2 separate regions of the Homo sapiens genome follow, and region 2 is linked to region 1. Evidence: promoter capture Hi-C in human tissues and cell types (Jung and others, 2019). All regions are on one chromosome and are shown on one strand. The core of a region is centred on a gene start or on the middle of the fragment in contact, and the rest is flanking DNA. Distances in the headings are between cores, read along the strand shown. Region 1 holds the start of AQP4 (aquaporin 4). Region 2 overlaps LOC107985126 (a long non-coding RNA gene).

Region 1 (5,100 bases), core at 704-3,203:
GCTTTTCTCTACGGTCTTTTTGATGGCTTTCTGTTACATGGGCCTATAGGACAGTGTGTCTCACCTTGTGGAGCTTCTCTGGGGAGGGTGGTGGGCAGGGAGTCTGGGAGAGGGAGGACGCCTTCTCCTCCCGTCTATATCCCTCTTGCTGTCATTAGATCTTTGGAGCAGAGAAGGGGTGGTTTGACGATATTGATGCCAACTGCTCATTCTGGCAGGAAATGGCTAGGATTCCCCTTTTGGGGGGGGGGGGCAATTACCCCAGTTACCCTATCATCTAAGACTTTTGCCCTTGTCCTTTGCCTGTGATAGTCATGAGAGCCAAGAAGTATGGAGAGTATTTACCAGAGAATCTAATTGCAGAGGACCACGTAAGGGGTTAGGCAAGAAAGCCAAGTACTTTAAGAGATTAGTATTATTGTGGCTTTCCCTTTGACAAATTGCGGGGCCCTCATTTCCCCATGTCACTGAATGTTCCCGGGAACCTGCTTTCTGCGTGGGTAGTGAGGAAATGCAGTGCCAAAAAGGGTGAGGGGAATTTCCAGCTCAGCCTAGCCCTTAGTTTGCTATGGGGCTTTGCTTTAGAGGTGGAGAGAGAAAAACCCTTTCTTGCCCAGGCCCGGGTGGCAGGATAAAGGAAGAGCTGGCTCCACAGGGGGGTGGCCAGCCACATCCCACGCATCCCCTGCCCCAGTGAAGCGAATCTCAGAAGTATGAAAAACCCCAGGTGGGATGACAACGACATCATACTCTCTAGAGGAAAAGAATGTAAAGAGACAAAAACGATGGTTGCAATGGGGCAGGGAGGGCACCCTGGAGGAGACACTAAAAATATTCCCAAAGACGGTAAACTCAGAAAAGTCACATATTGAAGAAGTTAGGAGAGTCACTTCTGAACTCACCGGCAGCCCAGGGCTGTAGCCGGGATGGCAAAGGGGGCAAAATGCGATCATAGGTGCTGTCGTTTGTGGTCAGGGTTAGGGGAGAAGGAGGAGGACAAAACAGTAGGCTAAGGAAGCTAGGTGGGCAGGAAACGTCCTTTTCAGCCCCGCAGGAGACACCAGAAGAGGTGGGACCCAGAAAAGGCCAGCCCCGCTGCTCACCCCCTTCACCTCTCACTTCTGCCATTTCCGGAGTTCTCTCCCTGCTTGGCCTGTCATGCACCTGTTTACCTCTCCAGAGGTAGTTGCTCTTTCAGCTTCAAATATTCATCAACCAGAGAAATTTAAAACAGTGCAAAACACCAACACAAAACATAAACATGCTCTTTAAGAATGTTTTTAGCTTTTTTTTTTTTTTAAATCCACAAAAATCTGATCTTCTTCCAAGGCAGATGGACCAGCCTCACTTGGCTGTGAACCGTGAAGTTTGCTGGCAGCATATACATATCTCTGGCCTTATGAGGGCTCACCCTAGCGTCACCCATAGCACCCTGCTTTTATTGTCAGTGTTCCCTTATATGTTCACAGTCACTGGAAATGATCAACACAATTAGATTTGCTTCTTTTGCCCCAGAACAAAGCGGGTTTGTTGATGTACTGAATCGGACACATTACTTTCTAGCTGAACACTCAGCTTCATCCACTCCAGGACAGCTGAGCGTCTGGGTGAGTAATTTTTCCGAAGAAATGTACTATAGCTAGATTCACCTCCATAGGGTAATTTTCCTGGGCTTTTGCAGATCTGAAACATATGGAGGATTTGGCTAAAAAGCATCCCTTTTCTTCTACCTTCTCTATGCCTCTCTTCTGAAAATGCCCAGTACTCAGATCTAAAAGAACCACCCACCTGCCCTATAGCTGCCTTCCAGATTCTGCCTAAGAAGGCACAAACATCTATAATAAAAGAGACAGTTTCATCTTTTGGCCCTAAGCGTTGTTCCCTTAAGGCAAAGAAGGACTTACCCCCACCGCCTTGCTGTGGGTCTGTCACTCATGCCTTCCCCAGCCAGAGTGCAGCTCTCATTGCCTGCCCCGCAGCTCCCTGTGTGCTGGGAGTCAGATTACGGCCACTTGTCTGATTGGGTTTTTGGAGTGTTAGGGGTGGAAAGATTCTGCACCATGTGGCAATCGCTAAGTTATATTTGAACTTGAAGTAGCTTTTCTGTACCTGATCACTGTAGACACAGGGCATTTCAGGAATGCAAAAACATTTACTTAATTTTTTTTTTTTTGAGACAGTAATTTTTGAAAATGAGGATTTCCTTAAATCTTTATTTGAATTCTTTCTACCATGAAGAATTGTTCAGAATTTGTCTTGTTTGGTTATATGTTGTAGTTGAAATTGGGCAATTATTAGAAAATGAATTTGTATAATCCAGCAGTTAACATGAATTTAGATAGAGACTTCAGTGCATTTAGTTTTTAGCCAATGAATTCTGTTTGAAGTTTTTGATCTGAGAAGAAGCATTATAAGAACAATATATAACTGCAGCTCCATTTATAGCACAGGCAGCACTGATTTGGACAATAAAAATAAGGAAACATAGGAAATACAGGAAAAAAGACTGCTCTAGGGTGCTCACCTGACTGTTACATTAATAATCTGGGGATAAGAAGTAGCAAACTTAAAAAATATCAAAGTTGGATGGGGACGAAATTATGGGGAACTGTAGGTAAATTTAACCTCTGGAAACTTAGGGACAGGACTGATTTTATAATTTACTGGTCCCAGTGCAAAATGAATGCAGGACACCTTGGTAAAACACTATTTAAATTTCAAGATTGCGACAGCAGAGCATAAATAAAGGCTGGGTGCTCCTAAAGGCAGGACCTTGTGCAGCTGCGCAGGCTGCATGCTTATGAAGACGTCCCTGCCGAAGGAGTTTGGTGAACTCTAGAAGGGTCTAACCATTAGCTACCTGCATCACCATCTCATTATTATTTTTTCTTTAAACAGATCTTAGGTGCATGGGATTGGAATAATCAGAATTCCTGATTTATGACACTCTGTCATCACTCGTGCATGTATGGCCCTCTTATTTTCTAATAGTTAATTATAATGGCTTTTAAATAATGTAATGAACATCTATGAACCCACCACTCAACCCAACATCTAGAACAATGATAATAACTCACATTACCTACGGATGCCTCCCTTTTCCCACTTTATATTTCAGATTGGATTATTTTTTTCCAGAATGAAGTATGACAAGAAAGAAATACATGAGAGAAGAAAGACTGTTATACTTTTAAATCCCAGTTACAGTTTTTTTGTTTTGTTTTCATTTGCGTACTTGAGACATGGGAATGGGTGAAGAGCTCTCATTAGAAAGAGGAATTCAAAATTTGAGTGTGACTTTCAGAGGAGCACTTTATTACTGTTTCAAGCATTCTCAGCTAACCAAGATTGAATTTAGATTCTTAAGAATATGGTTGCACACTTATTATTGTACATCAGTGGTTTCTACCTTTAATATGCTCCCTGAAAGTCAGAATAAATTCTGATGAGAGGGGCAGGGAGAATTTATATGAAGCCACAGAGAACACTTAAAACATTTCATATTGATTCTTAAAGCTGTTTACCATTTGGATTTTAGAATGAGATTTTTAAAAGGTGCAAAATGTTTGTTACAAATTGGAAAACTGTGAGTTTCTAGGCAGATGTGCTAAATGTCATTACTCTGACCCTAAGACATTTGAGTCAGAAGTATTTTGAGGGCTGTGAAGCTAAGGCACAATGTAGCCATGTTTAGGGGCTTCCTTGTGAATGAGTACGGTGGGCAGATCCTCAGGAATCTACAGAGTGGGGCTCTTTAGGGCTACCGGTCTGGTCGGTGGGTGGACATTTTCTAGGTCCACTCTTTACAGGTTGTCCTAGGCTTATTAGCATTCTCTGCACAGCCTCGGCAGTTGCAGTTACCATTTTACAAAGTGCCAGCAAAACTTGGTTACCACGGTTTCTCAGCCTCTTTCCCTGTTTTCTGGCTGGCTGATGCTTTCCAGGGCAGTTCCTAAGGGATGACTGTTCCCATCAAGGAAGGGGTCACCCTCATTGGCTCCAACCCCTACACTTATTAGTACTCTCAGCAGAGTAGCTTAAAATTGACCAGGGATTAACTCTTCACCTGCCAGAGGTAGTTTTTCTTATTAAGTATTGCTAATTAACCTTTTTGTACTTGAGCTGCTACTACTGATCTTCCTGTGATACTGTCAGCTCTATGCAATAATCAGCTACTTATCTGGCTTTTCTTTGGACTAGGGGCAGAAATTTCCCACACGATTGTCTGTGGCTTTGTATGCAGAATGCGATAATGAAGGAAAGCAGCTATAATGTGCTTGTAGTGGTGGTGGACCACCAGGAGGTGGGAAGCTCTGGTGAACATGAGTAATACCTTCTACATTGAAATGTTTTGATGTGGACCTGGATCCAAGTGAGAGTTGGAATCTAACTGCCCCCCACCCCCCACACCACTGGTATGTTTAAAAGGGCGCAATTCATTAAAAAATTGAATAACAATTTATTATATTTTCTTGACTTTCTCATTGTATAGTGTTACGAACTTTTGGGGGAGGATAGTTACATGGCATATTGATTTAAAATTGGTCTTTATGCCAGACCACCTTGTGAATCTTTAGTTCAATAGCCTTGCGAAGTTGTGGGTCAGTAACACATGAGGAACCAGAGAGAAGCGTAAGTGAAAATGACAAGTACTTAGCAAACACTAGCTAATTGACACGCTTTTTTTGTTGTTGTTTCTGAATTTTTAATCTACTATGCCATACTATTTTCCTTGGGTGCTGTTGTATATCTTTGGGATTTGTGGACTCCTTCTCCCATCCTTGCCCTCAGAACTTTTAATATTTCTTCATGTGTTCAGAGATTGAAAACTGAAACAAAAGCACTAAACATGCCAGCAATGCCTCAGTACCAGACGGGAAGTGTCTCCAGGCTGGTAGGGGCAGATTCAATCGCAACTCATAAATCTTACTTTGCTTTTCATGAATCTCAGCATCATGAATTCCCCCAGAGCACTTATATATCAGTATGTTCATTAAAAACAAACAAATAAACAGAACAACAACAGCAGCAGCAGCCGCAACCACAACCATCACGACGAAGGGCTTAATGGGGCTTTGTTCCTTTTTCAAGGAAGCTTTA
Region 2 (5,100 bases), core at 1,467-3,966, 720 kb after region 1:
AGAAGTAATCTTTTTGAGACCACGGGCTCTATCTATGTAAACATAACTGAAAAGCTACCTAATAACCTTTCTTGAAGCTCATGTTAAATTCTTAAGTTTATATTCAGTAAAATTATTTGCATTTTTGCTCATTATTATTTCAGTAACAGATGATCTAAGGATTTTGTAACTCATCTGTAATGGTCATTTACTTATATAATTATTCCTCAAGTTGAGCTCACACAGCCAAAATAACTTGAAAGATACTATGAAGTGTAACCCCCAAATTCTTTACTCGTCAGGTAATACAGTCAATGGAATTTCTCCAAGTTGCAGCACTGGTTCTAGAAGGTGTTTGGTTTCATTAATATCCAAACCTATTATTAGATGGAAATAGTATTTGCACATATAAGCTCACCCCATCATGCTAGTCTGATTGATTTGTCAACTCCCTAAAAAAAAAAAGAAGACCCACTTGGACTTGGAGAGCATGTTGGTTCTCATAAGAGGGACTGTCTGAAAAAGTCAGGAAAATTGGAGTGCAGTTCTTGTAACATGCTGCAGAAGGGAGCTGTGAGCATGTGAAAGACCTGGACCCTGAGAAAAAAGGCCAGAGTGATATTTCCTAATTTGGTCTAAATCAGCACTGTATGTTTTACACTCCCACTATATCTACCCATGGCCCACAGGCTGATCTAAGGATTTTATACCTCATTTGTAATGGTCATTTACATATAATTCCCCACATATTGGGACAGTGGTTTTCAAATATTTTAACTCATATAATCTCACAATTTTTGAAACATGATGTCCCTCTGGCCCATTTTAATTTGTCTGAATTTTCCAATGTGAATTTTTAAAACTTTATTTTAAAATTATTATTTGGAGGGAATAATAGGTTTAATAAGATAAAATATAGTAAGAATTTATTCTAATGGAATAAGTATTTCATGTTTTGGTAAAAATAGGTTTTGACTACCTGATTAAATACCATGTTATAATTGGATTAAGTAGGCATTAACAACTGTAATATATATATAATTTGAGAAAACAAATCATGTAAATATTCTATTAATAGGTTTTTATGTAATATGTTCTTGAAAATTGTGGTAACCCTAGAAAATATTCTAGTTTTATATTTAAAAATCAGTATCATTACCTGTACTCCTTAGGTTTTTCTGAATTCAGAACATTCTAAGGTAGGGAACATCTCATCTTTAACAGACATGAATAACAGAGAACGAAAGCCATTCAGATTTAAGATATTTTAATTAATCAAAAATGGAGATATTATTAAAACCAGTACTTTAAATTATGACTATTTTAATGCCCAGAAAGTTTTAATGGATAGCCCAGAGCTAACCACCCCAGTATAATTTTGAAAGAGTATAAAGTTTGCCCTTTGTTGCTGCAATGGTGACAAGACTAGTATGAATATAAGCCCCTTCTCAGGCAGACCTACTTTTGGGAAAAGCACAACTGGAATTTGATAATCTATCAATTAGTGCTCATAAAACTCGCTATACAGAAGTACTCTGTGAAATGTTTGTTCTATACCTCCAGGGTTTATGTTATCCCAGTTTCCAGACTCCAATTTGACAGTGGATTATTAAATATCCATAAACAAATGATGAACTCAGAACTGCAAGGCAGACTATAGATCTAAACTTGGGAGTCTAGCCAAAAATCAGCACTTGAGGACTGAAAGTGAATGAGTCCTCAAATGAGATAGAAGAGCCCAAGATAGTACATTGAGGACTAAGCTTTGGAAACACCATACTTCCATGAGGAGGAGGTGACATAACTGTGGTGAGGAGGATGGATAATGTTTTTATTCCCCTTTGTGCAGTATCCATTTGCTCTTTTGATATTTTCTGTTGAGGTCTACCCACTCCTCCCAGTTTGGTGTACTTTCAAGGAAGTGAATACTACCTTAGCTCCAAGAGAAGGCACGTAACCCAAGTCTTGTCAATCAAACCTTTATATTCTTGGAGAGGTGACCAATCAGAACCACCAAGTCGCACTGATATTTTTTACCGAGTCTTCTGAAAGAGACTCATATTCTTCACCTAAATCTCTATTCCTTTACACTAAGAACTTTTGGAAGTCCTCTTAAAACCATGAGCCAACCAGGAAAGCATCACCTAGAAACAGGAAAGGAGAAACTAGTCCTGATGCCATCCTGTGCATTGTGAGCCTTGGGTCAAGCTTCACCCATAGCTCCATTTGCATCTAGCATGTTCAGTTTTATAAATGCAAATTGTTTTTCCCCATCAACTGAATTTGAGAATTGGGCTCTGTTACCTAGGACCAGCTATAATTGATACAAGACATATGCAAACTTTTTATTTTCTAAAATGGGGTGTGAAAAGCTACACACCATACATTGTATGCTTTCTTTAAATCATTCTCTGACATTTTAATAGTTGTCTTAGGGTGGACATTGTTGGCCAGTTACACCTGTATGCTTGATATGGGTTGGCTGTTTCATCCCCTCCAAATCTCATGTTTAAGTATGACCTCTAATGTTGGAGGTGGGCCTAGTGGGATATGTTTGAGTCATGGGGGCAGATCCCTCATGAACAGCTTAGCGCCCTCCCCGTGGTAATCAGTCAATGCAAGATCTGGTTGGGAGCCTGGGACCTTCCCCTCTCTCTCACTCTCTCTCTTGCCTTGTGATTTGCTGGTTCTCCCTTTGTTTTCTGCCATGATTAGAAGTTTCCTGAGGCCTCACTGGGAGCAGATGCTGGCACTGTGCTTCTCATATAGCCTGCAGAACTGTGAACCCAAACAAACCTCTTTTCTTTATAAATTACCAAGCCCCAGGTATTCCTTCACAGTGATGCAAAATGGACTAACACAATGCTCCAAATGATTAATTGCTTTTCAACATGATTAACTCATTCCCACAGCATGTATGTATGCATGCATTATGTATGTATAGACATATTTACACACATGTGCATTAACTTGTACTTTTCCTGAAACAAAGTATAAATTAATTATAAAAAGCGATATATATCTTAGAATAAATTTTTTTAAATATAAGTTTTCAAATATAATTCAGTACTTTAAAAATTATCTAGAATTTGCTAAGATTTTCTGGATATTACTGTCAAGAATGAGTCAATTCATGGCATTTCTTTTATAATTAGAAGCCACCCATTCCACAGCTGAGTGCCTCAAAGCATCAAAGGAACTTGGTATCAAAAATCCCTTTGAAAACATACATTCGTGCTTTCATCATTTTATGAATAAAATAGATTATTAAATATCTGATAATAATTCTTCCAATTAAATATTCCCAATTGATAATTTTAATTTTTTTCTCTCATTTGTTTCCTTTTTCTTATAGGGAATGGAAAAATATCTTAGTTATACTATATACAAATTAACAGTACAAGAGTTCTCTTTGGAAGATATGCTTTTTAAAGTCTCAAGTTGGACAATATGATGAAAAAAATGTATTGACCAATATTGTTTTACTAATCTTGGGTTTCAGCTCATTAGTAAACAGCTGACTAATTTTTTGAAGAGTTTAGTATATTGTTCCACTGAAAATTTGAAACCTATAGTTACAGAATTAGGGCCTTAAATATAGAAGGATGTTTATTTATCTACAGGATATATTAAGATATTATCGGATTCAACCATGATACTGAGAAGTAGCAGAATAATGCACTAACGAGAAAGGGGGAAAAAGGAGGTAGTTTCTTGAATTTGTCTACAGAATTTTTCAGTCTTTCAAAGAGCAAGGAATGAAGAAAATATTTTTGAAGTTGACAAGAAGGACACTGCTAGTTACCTTCAGAGATCAGTTTCCATAGCCCAACACAAATTAAGATCATATTTCTTTTTTGAAATATATTTCTCATGAAACGTGACAAACATACTAAAGTTACAAAGAACAATATCATGGACATAGTGTCCTTACTCATCACAAAACTATTGACTTAATATTTTTCTTTATTCACAACAGATTTATAAGAATAATAAAATGTTCTACATACACATTAAACCTCAGTATCCTCTTCCCCAATCATAATCTACTCTTTCTTCAGAGGAAAACACTATGCTACATTTATCATTCCCCTGCATAATTTTTATACTTCTACTACATATGTATGCATTCAAAAATCATACGTAGTAGTGTTTTGCATTTATTAACTTAATATAAACTCTGATGGCATGAATGATTAAATTATTATTTCAATCAAGACTTTGAGAATTTTTTAAGGTAGATATTTATGGTTATAATTCATTTATTTAAACCATTATATAGTATTTTATTGAATAAATACATACAACTCAACTATTCTCAGGTTATTTCTACTTTTCTTTGTTCTTTCTTCTTCTCTTTGCTATCACACATAGTGATGCAATGAGCATTTTGGCATTTATATCTTCACTTACATATACAAGAGTTTCCAAGGTGTGTACCTAGGAATGGAACTTCTAGTTTATGGATATATAGAGAAAGAGATATATGATTTTCATAGTAGTTGTACCAATTTATACTAGGAGTTCAAGTTTCCTCAATCCTCTGTCTCAACTAGCGAACATTTTTCCAATTGAATTGTTATTTAGTGATATTGCATTGCTTTTATTGATGGCATTTCCCTGACTATTGGTGAGACGTAGCATAGAGTCAAATATTCTTGACAATTCACAATTCCTCATCTGTGAATTCACTATTCATATCACTTTGTCTATTTCTATTGAGTTGTTGGTCTTTTTTCTGATTTAAGTTTTATTTATATATTTTATGCAGTAATTACTTATTGATTATTTGGGTTATACATCTTCTCCCTATCTAAGGTTTGTCTTTCGTTTATGGTGTCTTTTGCTGAAAAGACTTTTTTATTTTTTAATGTTCTCAGTAGTGTCAGTCTTTTACATTAAGGATCATTCTTTTGTATATTGTCTGAGAAATATTTTTCTACTCACAGTTATTTTTCCCATTTTCTACTAGAAACCAGGTTTTAGGGAGTGACAAAAGAGATATACATTTATTTTAAAAATCAGTGACACACATTTTAAAATGTATGACTGTGTTAAAACAAGAAAGGGAGGTGATTAGAGTAATAGTGTATATAAGGAGATCTGTTTTGTTGCTTTTCA

The links. The method cuts DNA at HindIII sites, captures the fragments that hold promoters and counts their contacts. A contact is called where the count stands out against the background at its distance.
Region 2: a fragment that was not itself captured here is called in contact with the fragment with the promoter of AQP4 in region 1 in 2 of the 25 tissues and cell types used here (dorsolateral prefrontal cortex and lymphoblastoid cells).

Annotation. Positions count from the first base shown.
Region 1 is chr18:26,863,754-26,868,853 of GRCh38, forward strand. It overlaps AQP4 (aquaporin 4), which reads right to left and starts at 1,954. Exons shown (of 5, transcript NM_001650.7): 1 at 1,905-1,954. The coding sequence starts at 1,936. AQP4-AS1 (AQP4 antisense RNA 1) reads left to right here and starts at 1,555. Exons shown (of 8, transcript NR_026908.1): 1 at 1,555-1,607. The HindIII fragment of the contact is 8,928 bases long and covers 1-5,100 here.
Region 2 is chr18:27,586,374-27,591,473 of GRCh38, forward strand. All of the region lies in intron 1 of LOC107985126 (a long non-coding RNA gene), which reads right to left. Among named protein-coding and RNA genes, the nearest start is that of CDH2-AS1, 330 kb to the right of the region's middle. The HindIII fragment of the contact is 6,214 bases long and covers 1-5,100 here.